Regions from separate parts of the Homo sapiens genome. Here regions 1, 2, 4, 5, 6 and 7 are each linked to region 3. The links are contacts of gene promoters, found by promoter capture Hi-C in blood cells and fetal thymus (Javierre and others, 2016). All regions are on one chromosome and are shown on one strand. Each heading gives the region's core, a stretch centred on a gene start or on the middle of the fragment in contact. The rest is flanking DNA. Distances are from core to core; before and after follow the strand shown.

Region 1 (2,700 bases), core at 69-2,568, 1.5 Mb before region 3:
TAGCCAGGCCCTATGTTTCTCTAACAGTGATACTAATTGTGTTCGAATTTATAACATTACATTTTTTTCTAAGCACTCTACAATCCAGATTTAGTGATTCTCATTGACCTACTTCCTATTATTGGAGCCATTCTAGGGCTACATGCATATAATAAAATTTGTTTTTTAGGCAAGAGTTAGATCTACCTTTCATTTGTTTATTTGTTCATTCTTTGTCAAGTCAGTTATTTCCACCATTGATTGCATTTTTCCTTTTTGTAAATCCTTAAACTATTGTCTGACACACACGATTCTTTTAATTCTTTTATTAATCATCAAATGCCATTAAATTATAGAGCAGAAAGAGACTAATAAAATCATCTTATCCAGCTATAAAAGTATTATTGGATCAGTTGATAAAATATAGTTGCTATATTAAAATATTGCATCTTTAATAATCAGCTTCATGAAGCTGCTAACTGTGCTATGGGTGTGTTAAGAGACTATCTTAAATCTTAGGAAAAACACACTGAAGTATTTAGGAATAAAGATGCTGTGAGTTGCATAACTTACTCCTAAATGGTTCAGGAACAAAAAAATACGTATGTGTTTGTGTGTGTGGGTTTACGTGTGTTCATGCGCAAGGAGAAACAAGTACAGAGCAAATTACAAACCAAATGAAGCAAAACATTAACAAGTAGATTTGGGTAAAAGGCATATTAGTGTTATTTGTACTATTCTTGTAACTTTTCTGTAAGTGTGAAATTATTTCCACATAAACAGTTTGAAAAATTATCTCATCCATCCCTCTCAGGAAAAACATTCAGTCCTCATGACATCATGACACAGAGGTTAACTAGCTTTCCATTACCCAGAGTTAGAAACAAAACTGACTCTTAGTCCCGTGTACCCTCTGTTACACTGTGCTGCGGCCTTCTAGTAAATAAAGTTACTGAGCGCTAATTGAATACGGGGGCCAGTCATCCTGCTGTGTGCTTACATAGGACACAGCCAAGCTTGCATATTAGTGATGTAGTTTTGAGTACCTTTAAAAAGTAATTTGGCTATTACCTGGGCAGCCTTACAACCTCCAGCCGCTCTATTACCTGGATGCCTTGTTATTAGATATGCTGCTCATTGTAATGAGACACACCTATGTTTGCATTTTAACAAACAGTGGTTTTGTTCTTCTATTTCTTGATAGCTACTGCTTCTTGGGATACCTTTCTCATGCTATGGAATTTCAAGCCACATGCTAGAGCTTACAGATATGTGGGTCACAAGGATGTTGTAACCAGCGTGCAGTTTTCTCCACATGGAAACTTATTGGCGTCTGCCTCACGAGACAGAACCGTGAGACTCTGGATTCCTGATAAGTAAGAGAAACAAAGAAACACTTGATATCCTTTGGATTTGGAAATGTGAAAGAAAGCTGACCCTGGCTGCTGCTCATGCACTGCTGCCTGCACTGTTATTCTCAGTCACATAAAAGGCATGCTGCCCTTGTGGTAAAGTCAAACTAATTCATACAATTTTTTTCCTCAAAATTATGTCTTCTTTTTGAAAACTATTTCCTACCATGGAAATATGCTTAATATGTCTAAGTTTTTTTGAGGGAGTAGTGGTAGCTATCCATCCCTTTGTAGATCTGAGGTAAGCTTTAGACTGTCTCCCCAGAATGATACACATCAGTATGTATAACCAAAAATTCAGTTTATTAACTTCCTAACGCCCGTTCATGGATCCTTCAAGGGCCCTTGGATCCCTATTGAAAACCCTGTGCCTTTGATTTGATTTGTATCACTCATTATCGGGGTCCAGAATTTTCTTGTTAAAGAAAATTTCTGACAAAAGTTTAAATCGTTGAATTTGTGTAAGGTCATATGCGTTATAACAAATCTCTGTAACGAGACTTTTCAAACCCTAACTAATAGCCCATCTATTTTAAGTAATTATTGAGCCATGATTTTTAAAAATGTTTTTAAGCTTTAAAGTATGTAAATTTTCAAGCATACATGAAAATAGAATGAATAGCATCACTCCCCTGCCTCATATTCCCGTCAATCAGCTTCAACAGTTGTCAGGATTCTGCCCATCTTGTTTCATCTACACCTCCCCTCACTTTTTCCCCTGGAGTATTTTTAGAAAAAATCCTACATATCATTTCCCCCCATAAATACTTCAGAGCAGAGATTCCCAACCCCTGGGCCACTGACCAGTACCAGTCCATGGCCTGTTAGGAACCAGGCCAGAGCTCTGCCTCTTGTCGGATCAGCGGCGGCATTAGATTCTCATAGGAGCACAAACCCTATTGTGAACTGTGCATGCGAGGGATCTAGGTTGCACACTCCATATGAGAATCTCATGCCTGATGATCTGTCACTGTCTCCCTTCAACCCAGATGGGACCATCTAGTTGCAGAAAAACAAGCTCAGGGCTTCCATTGATTCTACATTATAGTGAGTATGTAATAATAATAGAAATAGGGCTGGGCACAGTGGCTCACGCCTGTAATCACAGCACTTTGGGAGGCCAAGGCAGGCAGATCACCTGAGGTCAGGAATTTGAAACCAGCCTGGCCAACATGGTGAAACCCTGTCTCTACTAAAAATACAAAGTTAGCCAGGCGTGGTGTCACGCACCTGTAATCCCAGCTACTCGGGAGGCTGAGGCAAGAGAATTGCTTGAACCTGGGAGGTGGAGGTTGCAGTGAGCCGAGAT
Region 2 (2,700 bases), core at 196-2,695, 1.4 Mb before region 3:
TGTTTCTTTTTTTTTTTTTTTTCCTGAAAAAATCTCTTGGGCCAGGTGCGGTGGCTCATGTTTGTAATCCCAGCACTTTGGAAGGCCGAGGTGGGCGGCTAATGATGTCAGGAGTTCGAGACTAGCCTGACCAACATGGTGAAATCCCGTCTCTACTAAAAATACAAAAATTTGCTGGGTGTGGTGGCGCGTGCCTATAATCCCAGCTACTCAGGAGGCTGAGGCAGTAGAATCGCTTGAACCTGGGAGGCGGAGGTTGTAGTGAGCCGAGATCATGTCAGTGCACTCCAGCCTGGGCAACAGGGCAAGACTCCGTCTCAAAAAAAAAAAAAAAAAAAAAACTCTTATAAAAAAGTCAAGGTTATGAAATTTTCTAGACAGGGAACAACTTTAGTATTATGAATAAATAATTGTTAAGTACCAAATTGTGTTTTAAAGACTCTACTTCAAATTAATAAATATGGATCCCTCACTAAGCCAAAGACTACTTAGTTCAAAACTTTCACACAGAATGGAATAGTCAGAATAGAAGTTGTGCTGTGTTCATTTATGATTAGTAAACTTTACTTTGAAATACTAAATTCAGTAGATTAAGTTTTTTTCAAAGCTTTAGGCAAATTTACATGCAGTTACTTGGGAAATATTTTAAAACTAAGAAATCTTTTTTTGAGGTCAGTATTAGGATTTAAGGAAAATAAACATCTTATTAAAATATGTAGAATAAATGGTATCTAAGTGAACTGATGAATTTTTCTTTCTCTGTTTGCAGTGACCATGAGTGTTTTATTTCTGAGTTTGAAACGAGATAACATTTTTATGATTTGTATTATGTTTTCTATGAGACTCATCTGAATTGCATAATCTCAATCTGCTGAGTAAAATAGTTTGGCCTTTTGCAAAAGCCACCCCTTTGCTAGCCTTAAGCGCTTCACTTGTTTGAAGGTGGGGAATCCTGCAGAGTCTTAGATCTTGGGTACCAGCTGACTAAATGTATAAATTACTAATTCCTACATGGATAGAGGGGGTGATAGCCATATTACTTTTAAAATAAATGAGAGAAGGAGGCCACATGAAAGAAGGCATGAAATATCAAATTCTCTCTATGTGAAATAGCCCCCTCCCGGGTTCTTCCTACTTATCTAACTACAGATCCTTCGTAGTACTCCTGGCCTAGGCACTCCATCTTAATTAAAAACATGAGAACAGTACCTCTCTCTCTTTTTTTTGATGGGAAAGAAGCCCAGTTTTTACACAAGGTATCTTGACCCTACCCATGTTGTGCTATAGCACATCACTAGTTCATGCTGACTTTATCTTCTTCAGACTGTCATGAGTTGGATTGCATTGTCCTGCCCCTAGACAAAACCAGACTTTCCTTCAGTGTGTGTGTGTGTGTGATATTTTTCTCCGGAGCAGCAGTTCCCTTCTTTCTTACACATTTTGATGAGAAGACAGTAGAGCCACTCTAAGCGATGGCGATAGCTCTTAATGACAGTAAAGCATCAAAATAGTTATTCTAGGAGAATTGCAGAATATTGTAAGCAGGGATTATAATTGGTTAAAAAGATTTTTTTAATAAAATAATGTTCTGATGGCTTTCAGTTTTTTATGGCCATTTTAGATTACCTTAACATATAAATTGCATATGAAATTCTGTATGATATTTAGCAGGAAGGAAAATGTCCTTTACCTTAACCAAATATTTATATAATAATATTTTGTGATAGTCTGACCATGATTCATTGTTGAAAAGTACAAGTGATCAATTTAAGTTTTTAAGTCTGAGATTGGGTTTTTATCTCAATCTTCTAATAAGGTTGAAAACATCACCATTTATGATTTTTTAAAATGACCACTTGTCTATCCATTTTGTATTCTACTTCTAACTGGGGTATATGTTTATACTGTTTCAGGCCTCAGTAAATGTTCATTACATGATGATAAAGTCTAACAGTTATACAAGACTGTTCTAAGTGTTTTATACAAATTAAGTTAATATTCCTAAAATCTCGGTGAAATAAGTACCACTATTATCCCATGAGAAATTGAGGTCTATGTTAGTTAAATCTTAAAGTTAGTAAGTGGCAGCAGTAGAATTTCAACCCAGGCACTCTGGTTCCATTCTGTGTTTTTAACCACTTTGATGTAATGCTTCAATATAAACAAAATTACATTTTATCCTGTTAACAGATATTAAAGTATCTGTGTGCTGGACGTTGTACTAGCTTTAGAGTATGCAGCAGTGAACAAGATGGGCATACTCCTTGCTCTTTAGAAGCTTGTAGTCTAGTGAAGGCTTATGGAATTTATTAGTAGAGGTTTTATGTTCGTGGACTCCTCAGTATCATGGACACAGAGAACCTCAATGGGGGATGTGGGATGGTACCTTTGAGGTCATACAGGCTAACCTTTACCTCATTCATTAGTCCCAGTTATATACCCTTGTTCAGCCATGGAGAACTTGGCCTCTCATAGGCAGCCCACTTCATTTCAAGGCAGCTCTAATTATTAACATATTCTTCCCTTTAATAAATATCAGGAGCTACAAGGTACTGTTAGTATTCCTGAGAGTTAGCTAGCAAAGAATTTAACCATATCACCCCCTCAGCATATTTTCTTTATGGAGAGGACTATAAATGTTACTTAGTAAGAACTTCCAGCTCTATTTAACTTATGTGGCAGCAACTTACGCAGTTAAAT
Region 3 (2,700 bases), core at 125-2,624:
ACAGTAGAGTGAAATACTAAAACAGATGATAATGTTTCATATGGATTACATTTGTTACAGCTAAAAAAAAAAGCCAATTACTGCTACAAACATTGAGTAATAACTGTGGTATTCTGACGAGGAAAGAACATGGTGATGATCAGTCTGAGTGGCAAGTAAGACCAGTTAGGTGGTGCAATGAGCAGGACATGAAATATTAACTGTAACAGCTGTGACAGCACTAGAAAGCAGGAAAAGATCAGATGCTATAAGGTAAAAAGCATCAAGGTGAATGGAAAACTGGCATGAAATGATTCCAGGGTTCATTCTTTAATTCAACAAATATTTATCCAGTGCCTACCACGTGCCAGGTCCTAGAAGCTGGGACTAAAGATAACAGGGCAATCTTTGCCTTAAACAAGTTTTAGTCCAGAAGACGAGAAAGCCAGTGCCAATGATGAAACTCAAGTGAGGTGGATTTCCAATGGACATGTTGGTTTTGTTTGAAATCAGCAAAGTTGGGAAGCACCCAACTAATCACTGGGGATTCTACTGATCAAAGACTACAACGTTTTATAGTACAATATGAAAAAATTACCCAAATATAGGTTACTCACTAGCATTTACCGAGGGCACACTATGGAAAACACGTTGCTGCAACAGAAAACCTTGAGAACACCAAAGTTAGAATAAATTAAGTAATTACTGGTAATATGAGGTGTGAACTTCAGTGACCTAATTAGGCTACTGTCAACACCGCCACTGGTTCGGACAGAACAGGTAAAGCAAGTCTTCTAATATCCACCCTTTCTTACTGCACTCTTGAAAAGTAGTAAAGCTTGGACTGTGGCAATTACCTGATTAGGGGGTTTCCCCAAAAGGTGCTGACCTGAAAAGGAAGGGACATGCTGTGGATGTGAGTTATCCATTTCCTTGCGAGGACAAGTTTGAATCTCCTGATAAGGAAAATTCTTTCGCAAATTCCCTCCCTCACAACTAAGAAAAGTACAAGAACCTGGAGCTCAGGGCGTACGGAACTCCCACCCCAGACCTCCCCAGGGAAACCTACAGAGGTTCCTGGCCTGCAGGGCAGTTCTAAAGCGCCCAGCCGCCCTCGCCGGGTTCGCACTGAGCCAGCGCCGCGGGGAGGAGCCCACGCGGGCCGCCAAGCCTGCCCGGCGCTCCTCCGTACCTGATGCTCCCTTTTGGAGGAAGGCTCCTCTTTCACCTCCGTCACAAACACACACGGCATTTTCCGCTGCACGGAGCCCAAGCGCTTCATGATGAGCCCAACAAGCAGTGCGAATGGAGGGCGTGCTTTCGAGCGGCGCCCGGTCCAGTCGCGGAGAAGCCCTGAAGCAGTCACCCGCACGGCTCAGGCCACGCACACTCCGCGCCCAGCCACCGCGGCTGCGCCCCAACTACCAAGCCCAGCGAGGGGCGGGAACGCCCGTCCAGAAGCGGCTTCCTGGCCGCGGCGCCTTCTGGGAGTTGTAGTGCAGAAGCTGAGGCGCCTGGTGGGTTCCCACGTGCGTCCTCCGCCCCCCACCCTCGGTTTTAATAACCGTGAAAAAAAAAAAAAAAAGATGCGTTTCCCGAACGTGGGTACTTAGCAATACCTAGTAACTAATGATTTTTTGGGAAATTAAATAAGATCAAATTATAAGCAATGAACATTTCAGATGTCGATTTAACACAGTTCCAATGGAAACTGCTTGCCTGTTATCTTTAGTTCGTGGGGGAAGCACTGTAGAAGTTTAGAAATGGCTAGAGACATCCCCAGATTCCCAAGCAGAATGAAAACTTCCTTTCCGGTAAGACTATCAGAAAACCCTATAATAAAACACCTGGGATCAAAAAAAGTTGTCGTTTGAACTACTCCTTATTGTGCAGCATAGCATGGTCGAAATGATTCTGATGTTCTTTTCGGAGTGAGTGCGAAATTTCAGCCTTAGACTAATCCAAAAGTACAGGAATACCTACAACCAGATTTCATTCTCAAGTTTTTCATAAGAATCTTGTTTAATTAAAGGTGAGCTCCAACAGCCCAAATGGCTTGAGTAATGGTAGTCAATCAACTGCGAGCTAAAAACAGCCTTAACTTACTGCTCAAAAGAATATTTTGAGGGTAAGTGATAAGATGGACAATGACTAAATAAAATAAATACTAAATATTTAGGAATAGTAGCCTTTCCATCTCATTGAATGTAGTAGTTCCTAGCCTGAAGTTGTAGGGGAATTTTGACTTTACTGCCATCCTTTATGGGCTTGGACTAGGCCCAGGTCTCATTTCTTTGTCTTATCTGCATGTACTCAACTGTCCAGCATGTTACTGACTTAGCCCTTGGAAAAATTAAACAACTATATCTCACTTAGAGGTATCTAACTAGTAAGGGGGTTCTCAAAGAATAAAACATCTTCCTTTAAAAAGTTCACAGTTATATTGAATACTGACAGTGAAAAAAAATAAAATTTAAAAAAAGTTCACAGTTTTTTGATTACTGGATTCAGAGGGGAGGGAGGAAGAAAGAGATTTGCCATTTCAAAGTGTTTACTTTCTTTTCTACTATCTTTTTCTCACAGGAAAACACAAAATGTTCTCCCACATCACACCCCGCCTGCATTTATCAAAAAAGAAAACACCTGATGCTGGCTGTGTGCTGTTGGAACCAGAAACTTTTTAGCATATTATAGTCGAGTGCCAGTGACTTCTTTGTTCTT
Region 4 (2,700 bases), core at 33-2,532, 1.9 Mb before region 3:
CTGTTTTGCACAGTACTTTTGCCAAGCACACAGGGGAGTTGAAGAGACAGTAGTTGATGGTAATTATCATGCACCCTTTGTTTGTTCACAAGGGACATTTGCTGAAGATTAAAAATAAATTCACAACTAATTGACTGTCAGCCATAAGCTATACTGCTGGGACTTCCAAACTACCAACTGAAAAGAAAACAACTGAGCAAATCTTGCCAAGGCCCAACTCAAAGATTAAAAACAGCCTCCCTATTTAACTTGCCTACAGCACAACTCATCAGATGAAAGGTAACTTCAGTAGTTCTGCAATTCCCTTCCCCAAAGAGCCCACTTTGGGAAATAAACCTTTAATTACAAATGCTATACGGCCGGGCGCGGTGGCTCACGCCTGTAATCCCAGCACTTTGGGAGGCCGAGGCGGGCGGATCACGAGGTCAGGAGATCGAGACCATCCCGGCTAAAAACGGTGAAACCCCGTCTCTACTAAAAATACAAAAAATTAGCCGGGCGTAGTGGCGGGCGCCTGTAGTCCCAGCTACTTGGGAGGCTGAGGCAGGAGAATGGCGTGAACCCGGGAGGTGGAGCTTGCAATGACCCGAGATCCCGCCACTGCACTCCAGCCTGGGCAACAGAGCGAGACTCCGTCTCAAAAAAAAAAAAAAAAAAAAAAAAAAAAATGCTATAACTGGGCCTGCTAAGCTGCCCCTTTCAAGCCACCAATGAGCAGTTATCTACTGAGCACTACCTATTTGCCTGGTACTTGTAGACTCTGAGAATACAATGATAAATAAGATATTCACAACTCTTTCCTCTGTGGTATTCAACCCCAGCAAGGAAGGAGTATAGTTAGAAACTTTACTTAGTGAAAGAAAGATGAGGAAGACAGTAATGACGCATTCCAATGGCAAACACACCTCTACTTCTTAGTTTTATTTCTTTGTCACACCTACCTCAAGTTGAAGGCAGCAATCTTTATAGTTCTATACCTCATGCATGAAAGACAATCCAGGAAACCTTAAAAATTGTCTGTCCCAATGAACCATGACCCACAATGGTATAAGAACATCGACAAAATATGAACAACAATGGTAAAATATAATCAACTCACTAATGAGTCATGTGCATGATCCGGAGGCACAGGTAAGACAAGACTGGTTTATTTAAGGGCTTAGTTCTCCTTTGGAAATGGAGCTAATCTTGTCAGAATAGCAGTTGAGCTATTCCTCTCTCCTTTCCCTATCCATCTTTCCCCCTCCCAGATCTTCTCTCTTTTTTTTCCCCCTTTGGCTTCCTATCTGCATCTACCTTCTTTCTTTCACAAAGCCTGACTCCATAGATGATGGTTGTATGATAGGCATTGTTAATGTCCACCAATTTCTAATTATTTACTTTTGGTTAGAAAGGAGATTACATTTCCATGTTCCCTTGAAGTTAGATGCTGCCATGTGACTCATTTTGCCCAAAGGCATGTGAATGACACTCTGGACTAAGGCTTCTATGGCTTGTGTTTGACTTGCCAGCTCTTTCTCATCCCCTGCTGGGGTGAACCCTGAAGCCTGACGTCATTAGATGGCAGTGTCATAAAATGACAGAGTCTCCTTCAGCCTTACTCCGTATGTGACAGTGATAAGCAAAGCTCTCCCTGACACCATGAATGAGAAATAACCTGAAATTTTAGAGTTGTTATCACAGGATAACCTACACTATTCTGACACAAGTAAAAGAAGAAAGATACTAACCAGCACATGCAGTCATAAGGATGTTGGCAACAGGATTCATTTAGCACACATTTACTGAATTGGCATGTAAGTGAAAGAATCCAACATGAGAAAATAGAGAAAAGATAAAGTTGTTGCCCTCAAAGAGAGGGCAAAAAAAGAAAAAAAATTGACAAATGTAAAAACAATTATGGTAGAATTTTACATATATATTTTTTAAATCAGTCAAATATGGTAAGGAAAAGTTTGGGAAATCTTTGTCTAAAGAGCGTGCAGCTGGAAGCTAGGAGTCCAGTCCTGCCATGTTTTTGTAAGTCATTACCATTGTTATCATCATCAACCTATTTATTATTACAGAGCATGTGTGACTTCAGGCAAGACACTAAACTCTTTTTTTGCATCTTTAAAGTAGAGGGAAAATACTATTTCTCTTTTTTAGATTACTGAAATGTGATTAATACCCAAGAGGATAGAATGTCTATGTACTCTGAATTCTTAAGACAAAACAACATCTCAGGCAGAGTGTTTAGTGAAAAGCCCCTGGCTGAGGTTTCAATACTTGTGTACAATTGAGCAAAAGTCAGAAAGCCTTGGTCTTTTTATATCTCAGCCAAAGGTGTCTACTGAGCTTTCACTGTGTGCCAGCTACCATGCCAGGCTCTAGAGATGGGCCAGTGAACAAGGCATTGTGCTTGTCTCACTCTAAAAACTGGCAGAGAACATGAACATTAAACTTTAAGTATTATGATCATTAATTGCATAATTACAAACGTTCTAAGAGCTCCACAGGATTCCACTGGACCATTTGACTGAGAGACCTAAGTGGCTTATCAGGGATGGCTGATAAACTGAGTTTGGAAGAATCTGTAAAATTAGTATCACAATGTACTTTTAAGGTGGCTATAATGGTTTTTAAAACTAAATGTAAAATTTTGGCAAATAGTTGGTTCTCAATAGATGTTAGTTATTGAACAGTGTCATAGAAATCTGT
Region 5 (2,700 bases), core at 49-2,548, 1.5 Mb before region 3:
TAAATACTGATCCTGCTTGTGGCTCCCACCCACATAAATGATTAGGTTGCAGTCCAGAGAGGTCTAAATAATCATTGTAGCAAGTGGAATTAGGCTTGAGGTTAGAAAAAACTTCCCCAACTTTGACCACATTTCCAATTGTCTACCTCTGAGCTTTTGCTATTTGCAAAGGTGAAGAAAAGCCGAAAAGAACAAAATCAAATACTATGGAAAAGAACAATGGGAAGGGCAGTTTAGAGTAATAAATGAGGACAGTGGAATGAAAATAAAGGAGATATTACTTTCATTTTGTAAAACTTATTATTATAAACCTTGGCAAGAATGCAATGTTTTATACATTTACATAACACTTGCAATCACACAAAAGTCATGACAGTGATTAAGAGAGTGGATTCTGGGCCAGGTGAGGTGGCTCACACCTGTAATCCCAGCACTTTGGGAGGCCGAGACAGGCGGATCACGAGGTTAGGATATTGAGACCATCCTGGCTAACACGGTGAAAACCAGTCTCTATTAAAAAAAAAATACAAAAAAAATTAGCCGGGCTTGGTGGCGGGCGCCTGTAGTCCCAGCTGCTCGGGAGGCTGAGGCAGGGGAATGGCGTGAACCTGGGAGGCGGAGCAGCTTGCAGTGAGCCGAGATCGCGCCACTGCATTCCAGTCTGGGCGACAGAGTGAGACTCCGTCTCAAAAAAAAAAAAAAAAAAGAGAGAGTGGATTCTGGAGGCAGACTGCGAGTGTCTAAAAATCTCAACTCTGCCACTTCCTAGTTAGCAGTGTGCCTTGGGCAAGTAACTTAATGTCTTTGCATATCAATTTACTCATCTATAAAACGGAAATGGTAATAATAGCACATCTCTAATAAGATCGTTATGATCACTAAATGTCAAAATTTGTAAGGTACTTAGAAAAGTCCTGGCATGTAGTGAAAACATAGGTAGGTATATTAGTCCGTTCTCACATTGCTATGAAGAACTACCTGCGACTGGGTAATTTACAAAAAAAGCGGGTTTAATTGGCTCATGGTTCTGCAGGCTGTACAGGAAGTATGGCTGGGGAGGCCACAGGAAACTTACAAACATGGTGGAAGGCAAAGGGGAAGAGAGCATGGCTGCTCCATGGCTGGAGCAGGAGGAAGAGAGCAAAGGGGGAAGTGCTACACACTTTTAAACAACCAGATCTCGTGATAACTCACTCAGAACAGCAAGGGAGAAATCCACCCCCATGATCCAATCACCTCCCACCAGCCCCCTCCTCCAACACTGGGGATTACAATTCTACATGACAGTTGGGTGGGGACACAAATCCAAACCATATCAGTAGGTGACAAATTTTTTAAGATCAACTTTAGGTAATAGGATTAATATGTAGTTTCCCTCCCATCTTTTAAATTTAAAACATGTGTTTCTTGATAATTGAGAAAAAAAGTAAAAGCTAAACTTTTACTAAAACACTTAAATAAAAATCTATATTTTTTCTTCTTGTGAGCTAGTTTCTAAATCTCCAACTTCTTCCCTTTTCTGCTTCTCCTGTGCCCAATATTAGACGTAACATACCTATGAGTAATCCTGAGGTCCTGATTACTCTTCAGCTTCTGGCATTATTATTTTATTATTGGGGTGAAATACCTGTAATGAAATTTACCATTTTACCCATTTTTTAGGTGTACAATTCACTGGCATTAAGTACATTCACAATGTTGTGCAAACATCACCACTATCTATTTCCAGAACTTCATCATCCCAAACAGAAACTCTGCACCCATTAAACAGTAACTCCCCAGTCTCCCTTACCCCCAGCCCTAGTAACCTCTATTCTACTTTCTGTCCTTATGAATTCACCTATTCTAGGTACCTCATATGAATGGAATCATACAATATATGCTCATTTGTGTTTGGCTTATTCACTTAGCAAAATGTTTTCAAGGTTCATCCATGTTATAGCTTGTATCACAATTTCATTTCTTTTTATGGCAGGATAATATTTCCTTATATGTATATATCACATACATTTTGTTTATCCATTCATCTGTTGGATACTAGGATTGTATCCACTTTTTGGCTATTGTAAATAATGCTTGCTTTGAACACTGGCATCTGTTGGAGTCTCTGCTTTCAATACTTATGGGATATACCTAGCAGTGAAATTGCTGGATTATAAGGTAATTGTATGTTTAACTTTTTAGGAACTGACAAACTTTTTCACAGAGCTACATCATTTTACATTCCCACCAGTATCCAGCATTAGTTTTAAACATGGCAGGCTTTTAAAATAAATCAAGCCTAAACTGGTAATATGTAGCAAAACTAAGAGTCCTGCAACAGTTTGCTGACAAGTTGCTGATATCAACACTCTTAACATATCATCTCCTAGACTAATGCAGTGTTTCTCAACATAGACAGCTGAGACTCCCATAGTAATCATCTATGGAGCTTGTTACATCAGAAGGGCCCTGGATCCCACCTTGTATATGTTGATTCAGCATCTCTGGAAATGGAGCCCCCAAATCAACATTACAAATGCTAAAGCATGAGACTCACCAACCCTAGATTGCTGAGTTCTTGAAGGTAGGGGAAATATCTTAGTCATCATTGTGTCCCTCAAGGCCAAACATACAACAGATATTTAACAAGTGTATACTTAAATTAACTAATACTGTAATCTAAAGCCTACCTGTTTAGTTGTTAAGTACCATATTCAA
Region 6 (2,700 bases), core at 46-2,545, 1.3 Mb before region 3:
AAAGGTTTACTTCCTTGAGTCAATTCTCTTAAAGATGCCTGCTGGAAATCCTACAGCAGACTTGTACTCCATGTTCTTAATGGCTGGAATTAGCCACATGGCCATAGCTAGAGAGGCTGGGGATACAGACTTTCAGTTGGACACAAGCTTCCCCTAATATTAGTTTGGTGCAAAAGTAATTGTGTTTTTTGCCATTACAATCATTGCAAAAACTGCTATTACTTTTGTACCAATATAACTGAGGTTCTGTTTCTCAGGAAGTAGGGGGCACTGAATGTTAGTCATCTACCTTCTTCTTTTCTGGAGAAAACTCCATTCCCATCATAGGGAAGGGTATATAACCCAGCCCAGGCCAAAAAAGGCCTCATTTTCTGGTTTCAGTGATTGTTTCAGGGGTGGGACATGATTCCATTTCAGCCAATCAACTTATACCTTGGATTCATCTATGGAAAGGATTTTCTCTTAGAGTTGCTAAGCCCCGGACTTACTGATTCAGAATTTTTGGAAATGAAGCCTGGGAATCTGGTTTTTTATAAATGGCCCTCAGGTGATTCTTTTGATTGTCCTGTTTGGGAATTACCAGATCTGCCATGTGTAGTAAACCAACATTTAATCTAGCATCTCCTCTCTTAGGGCATTCAAAGAACAACAGCATTAAAGGGAGCTTGCTAGATGTCTTTCCAAAGATGGACATCAAAAGGCTGAGCATATAGTGTAGGTATAACTGCACCATAACTATCATGGGCTCACAACTATAGACTTTTAGAGTTATGATTTTTTTTCTAGTTTGTTACTTGCCCTATAAAGTAGCACTTGAAAATATAAATAGTCCTAAAAGCACTTTTTTAAAAATTTTACCAGGGCTTCTAGGTCTGCTTTGCTGGGATTTGGTGTCAGAATCTGTGTTCACTTAATCAGTACCCTTTGTGATTTTATCAACCTGATCCGCCAACTCTTATGTTTTGTCTTTCTAGGCTGAAGTGTTTTAAAGTCTCTTTGGTTTCTTTTCAAACCCTAATCATTTTAAGGGACCTCCTTTAAGTAAGTTCCAGTTTCATTATGCCATTTTTCAGGTTTGATGGCTGGAACTATACTCAGTATTTCTGGAGCCAATGAATTCTGGTGTCTCTCTGTGTATATGTGTGTGCGTGTGTGCAAACGCTCATAAGATTGTGCTTTCTATTTTGTTTTTGACATCCTTCCTGATGATGCTTGCTTTTGTGACTGCCACAATACATTGGACCGACCCCTTCAGGGAATGGTCGGCAATGATGCCATCATCCTTTTCCTGGATCACGTCTGCACTCGGAGTCCTTGGTCTTCTAAGCACGAGGTGCGTTCTCTTTTCCTGCAGCTATTCCTGTGCAACCAACTGCACTGAGCACGGCTATTTACTGGCTACTCACACATCTCTGCAAGACCTTCCTGACGTTTATTATTGTCATGATGATGTTTGAATTCTCAAAAAATCTCTGTGTCATCTATTGATTTGAATTTTCACTTTATTGATGTTTAAACCACTTTTGAAAAATGATAGGCATACATACATACAGATTCATGAAATACACATTTTTAATATATCCTCCAGCAGAATAGTGATTACTTCTTTAATATGCCCTTATAATATCCATCAGCAGCCCACAATAATAGAATCTGATTGACAAAACAGTGAGCTTCATATTAAAATATAGCTTTACGATAATTTCAAAATTCCTTATCCCCCTCCCCCAATTTCAATGAGATTGTTATTCCCAAACCCTTCCTATAAGGATATTTTGGAATTGCCACTGATCTCTATCCAAGGTTTCACATTTTTGAGTCCCTTCTAACTCTTTGACAGAAGCAATTCAGGTTTAAAACTTTTAAAATGAGAAATGCTGGCTGAGTGGACCATAAATTATGCCCATGGTTTGATGAGGCTATCTCTGTTCTGATCCTATTTTCAGCTGAGGAGTGATGGTTACAAGCTCAGTCAGTGGGTTCAGTTTTCCCAGATGTGAACCCAGATCTGTCACTTGTTAGCCATGTGACCTTGCCTAGTCTGTGTAGATCCTCAATTTCAGACAAGTCTCTCTGAGCCTTGGTTTCTTCACCTGTGCAATGAGAATAATAATAACACTTAGCTGATGGAGTTGGGAGGATTCAATGAGAAAATTGACGTAAAGCACCTAGAAAAATGCAAATAAATTGTAATTGATGAGGCTCTGGGGAATGGAATTATGTATGCCACTATTCATTTATTAATTCAACAAGGCATAGACAACCTATTATATTCAGGGAATGTTCTGAGTGCCATAAAGAGATAAATTAGACACAAATTTGACCTTTCAGCCTTGAAATGAAAACAGCCTTGAACATAAATCATTATAAGATATAAAGTAACAAGTAGCATAAAGAACATAGTCTCTGGATTTAGACTCTTGCAGGTTCAAATATAAGCTTCATCACTAGCTACCTGTGTAACCTTAGGCCAGGTGCTTAATCTTAGTAAGTTTCCCATCTGTTAAAAAATGGAAATAATAATGGTATTTACCTCACACTGTTGTTATCCGGATTAAATGAGAAAATGCACGTAAAATGCTCAGCACTTCGACTGTCACATAATGTGTAACATAAACTGCTTTCATAAGTAAGATCCAGAAGTACTGCAAAAATTTAGTGGAGCAGGGGATTTTATTTTTCTTTTGTTTATATCCATTT
Region 7 (2,700 bases), core at 201-2,700, 1.4 Mb before region 3:
TCACTTGAGGCCAGGAGTTTGAGACCAGCCTGGCCAACATGGCAAAACCCCATCTCTATTAAAAATACAAAAATTAGGCTGGGCGTGGTGGCTCATGCCTGTAATCCCAGCATTTTGGGAGGCCAAGGCGGGCAGATCACAAGGTCAGGAGATCGAGACCATCCTGGCTAACATGGTGAAACTCCATCTCTACTAAAAATACAAAAAATTAGCCGGGTGAGGTGGCGGGCGCCTGTAGTCCCAGCTACTCAGGAGGCTGAGGCAAGAGAATGGCGTGAACCCCAGGGGGCGGAGCCTGCAGTGAGCCGAGATCTTGCCACTGCACTCCAGCCTGGGCGACAGTGAGACTCCGTCTCAAAAAAAAAAAAAAAAAAAAAAAATACAAAAATTAGCCAGGCATGGTGGCGCACACATGTATTCCCAGCTACTCGGGAGGCTGAGACACAAGAATCGTGTGAACCTTGGAGGCAGAGGTTGCAGTGAGCCGAGATCATGCCACCGTACTCCAGACTGGCAGCAGAGTGAGACTCTATAAAAAAAAAAAAAAGAATTATAAATTAGCTTTATAACTTATCAGTCTCTTGCAAGAAGTGAGTGGATTGCTTGAGTCCAGGAGTTTGAGACCAGCCTGGGCAGCCTGGCAAAACCCCATCTCTACAAAAAATACAAAAATTATCTGGGCATGGTGGCATGCACCTGTAGTCCCAGCTACTTTGGAGGTTAAGGTGGGAGGATCACCTGAGCCTGGGAGGCCTATGCTGCGGTAAGTTGAGACGGTGCCACTGCACTTCAGCCTGACTAATGGAGTGAGACCTTGTCTCAAAAAAAAAAAACGAAAGAAGAAACTTGTCCAACCAGTTTTCAAAACATAATATAAAACCATAGTAATTAAAATATGGTGATAATGGTACAGGATTAAGAAAAGAGGTCATATAAAGCCCAGAAGCAGATACATGTGTATATGAGAACTTACAATAAATGTGGCATTTCCAATCAGTGGGGAAATATATGGTCTATTTAATATGTAGTTAAGATAACTAGATTTATATTTGGAAAAATATAAAGTTGAATATTTTACCAAAAAAATTTAGATGAATTAAACAACTAGATATTTAAAATAATCCAAATGGTACTGCTTTTCCTCCCAGTGCATGGATAGTGTACTTAAATGAATGTAGAGGATCAGTAGAGCAATTGTTTCTGCCTTTAGTATTTGAATTTTAAATGTATGCCATGGACTTAAGTAATTAAAATTCTGTGTCTATCTCGGTGCCCAGTACTTTCTATGAGTTTGTTCTTGGAGCCCAAGCTTATTCAGTGTCGCACAGAGATGGTGCCCATTAGTGTAAGAGGAGGTGAATAGGTAGTTTCTCTAGACTAACCTTTGTTATAATCTAATTTAACAAAGGTTAATTTAAATAAATAAGGTATACCATATATTTGGAAATACATTCATGCTTTTAAAATGTAAATAGTATAGTCTTTTTATAAGTCTATTTGCAAAATATGTCAGGCATCTTTGTTGCAGTGATTCTACAACCAAAAATGTGTCCAAAATAAATACTTTTTTGCCATCACATGAAAAAGCTTTGTATTCAAAGGTGGTGCTTTCAGTATAATTTGAAATGATGAGAAATTAGAAATAACCGATTTTTCCAATTTTTATTTCAAATAAAAAACCTAGTTAAATATAGTTAGATTATGATGTAACCAGTAAAAAGGGAGTCTATATGCAAGTTATGGCATGAAAATATGTTTACATGGGGAAATGGAATGCAGTGGTTATATTATAAAAGACCTATGCATGAACAAAAGATGAGGTATCTATTATACACAAGATATTAAGTGTAATTGTGTTTGAGTGACAAGATCTGGACTTTTAAAATTTTCTGTATTTCTCAACTTTTAAACATATGATGAAGAAAACATCATTTGAAATACATGTATGTAGGTGAGAAATATCTTTTTACTTACAAAAGAATTTTTCTAAAAGTTAAAATTAGTATAGCCCTTTGTTTTTAAAAACAATGCACGTATTGTGGGATAACTTACATTTCTTTATAGTGTTCTTAATAAAAAATAAGTAGAAGTTAATGTAGTAGAGAACTTTTCCGAGTCTGTTGCTTTTCCAGCATTGATTTTTTGGGAGTAAATATCTGCCTATAATTTTCAGTTGTTGATAGGATTACAAAGTGATCTTTTGACCATCTGAATTGAAAAGATTTTGTGAAATTGTGGTAAAATATATATAACAAAATTTACCATTTTAACCATTTTTATGTATACAGTTCTGTGGCATTAGGTATATTCACATTGTTGTGCAACGAATTGCAAAGATTTTTCTCAGCTTACATTGGCTATATATAATATTAAGTTAGTTTAAATTCCCTTAAAACTTTTTTTTTTAATTTCCTAAACATTTACTAAGGACCTACTCAGTGCCAGGCACTGTGTCTGGGGATAGAGCATTGAGTGAGACAGATGTGAGTTGCCTCTTCTTGCTTATATTCTATTAGGGAAGCCAGCGTGGAGCACTGAGGTATAAATGTGGATGTGGGGCCAGGCGTGGTGTTTAACGCCTGTAATCCTAACACTTTGGGAGGCTGAGGCGGGTGGATCACTTGAGGCCAGGAGTTCAAGACCAGCCTAGCCAACATGGCGAAACCCCATCTCTACTAAAAATACATAAATTAGCCAGAT

What was found. Contacts are between HindIII fragments. The CHiCAGO score rates a contact against its expected background, and 5 or more counts as called.
Region 1: a contact is called between a fragment that was not itself captured here and the fragment with the promoter of RLIG1 in region 3, in 3 of 17 cell types (activated CD4 T cells, naive CD8 T cells and M0 macrophages). The highest score is 6.6, in activated CD4 T cells.
Region 2: a contact is called between a fragment that was not itself captured here and the fragment with the promoter of RLIG1 in region 3, in 5 of 17 cell types (non-activated CD4 T cells, fetal thymus, naive CD4 T cells and 2 more). The highest score is 11.0, in non-activated CD4 T cells.
Region 4: a fragment that was not itself captured here is called in contact with the fragment with the promoter of RLIG1 in region 3 in 4 of 17 cell types (activated CD4 T cells, naive CD8 T cells, non-activated CD4 T cells and 1 more); the score reaches 6.2 in activated CD4 T cells.
Region 5: a fragment that was not itself captured here is called in contact with the fragment with the promoter of RLIG1 in region 3 in 13 of 17 cell types (non-activated CD4 T cells, naive CD4 T cells, activated CD4 T cells and 10 more); the score reaches 26.5 in non-activated CD4 T cells.
Region 6: a contact is called between a fragment that was not itself captured here and the fragment with the promoter of RLIG1 in region 3, in 1 of 17 cell types (non-activated CD4 T cells). The highest score is 5.7, in non-activated CD4 T cells.
Region 7: a contact is called between a fragment that was not itself captured here and the fragment with the promoter of RLIG1 in region 3, in 1 of 17 cell types (non-activated CD4 T cells). The highest score is 6.8, in non-activated CD4 T cells.

Annotation. Positions count from the first base shown.
Region 1 is chr12:89,495,826-89,498,525 of GRCh38, reverse strand. POC1B-DUSP6 (POC1B-DUSP6 readthrough) reads left to right here. Exons shown (of 11, transcript NR_189589.1): 3 at 1,184-1,355. POC1B (POC1 centriolar protein B) reads left to right here. Exons shown (of 12, transcript NM_172240.3): 3 at 1,184-1,355. Among named protein-coding and RNA genes, the nearest start is that of GALNT4, 28 kb to the left of the region's middle. The HindIII fragment of the contact is 642 bases long and covers 998-1,639 here.
Region 2 is chr12:89,462,125-89,464,824 of GRCh38, reverse strand. The region is part of intron 9 of POC1B-DUSP6 (POC1B-DUSP6 readthrough); the gene reads left to right. All of the region lies in intron 9 of POC1B (POC1 centriolar protein B), which reads left to right. Among named protein-coding and RNA genes, the nearest start is that of GALNT4, 61 kb to the left of the region's middle. The HindIII fragment of the contact is 1,671 bases long and covers 610-2,280 here.
Region 3 is chr12:88,034,210-88,036,909 of GRCh38, reverse strand. It overlaps RLIG1 (RNA 5'-phosphate and 3'-OH ligase 1), which reads right to left and starts at 1,374. Exons shown (of 7, transcript NM_001009894.3): 1 at 1,172-1,374. The coding sequence starts at 1,261. LOC107984542 (a long non-coding RNA gene) reads left to right here and starts at 1,414. Exons shown (of 3, transcript XR_007063395.1): 1 at 1,414-1,496; 2 at 2,563-2,700. The HindIII fragment of the contact is 2,128 bases long and covers 820-2,700 here.
Region 4 is chr12:89,950,252-89,952,951 of GRCh38, reverse strand. All of the region lies in intron 6 of LOC105369890 (a long non-coding RNA gene), which reads right to left. Among named protein-coding and RNA genes, the nearest start is that of LINC02399, 3.9 kb to the right of the region's middle. The HindIII fragment of the contact is 3,706 bases long and covers 1-2,700 here.
Region 5 is chr12:89,527,038-89,529,737 of GRCh38, reverse strand. All of the region lies in intron 1 of POC1B-AS1 (POC1B antisense RNA 1), which reads right to left. Among named protein-coding and RNA genes, the nearest start is that of POC1B-GALNT4, 2.1 kb to the right of the region's middle. The HindIII fragment of the contact is 4,188 bases long and covers 1-2,700 here.
Region 6 is chr12:89,338,278-89,340,977 of GRCh38, reverse strand. No RefSeq gene overlaps it. Among named protein-coding and RNA genes, the nearest start is that of DUSP6, 13 kb to the left of the region's middle. The HindIII fragment of the contact is 2,292 bases long and covers 150-2,441 here.
Region 7 is chr12:89,478,276-89,480,975 of GRCh38, reverse strand. All of the region lies in intron 4 of POC1B-DUSP6 (POC1B-DUSP6 readthrough), which reads left to right. All of the region lies in intron 4 of POC1B (POC1 centriolar protein B), which reads left to right. Among named protein-coding and RNA genes, the nearest start is that of GALNT4, 45 kb to the left of the region's middle. The HindIII fragment of the contact is 278 bases long and covers 1,312-1,589 here.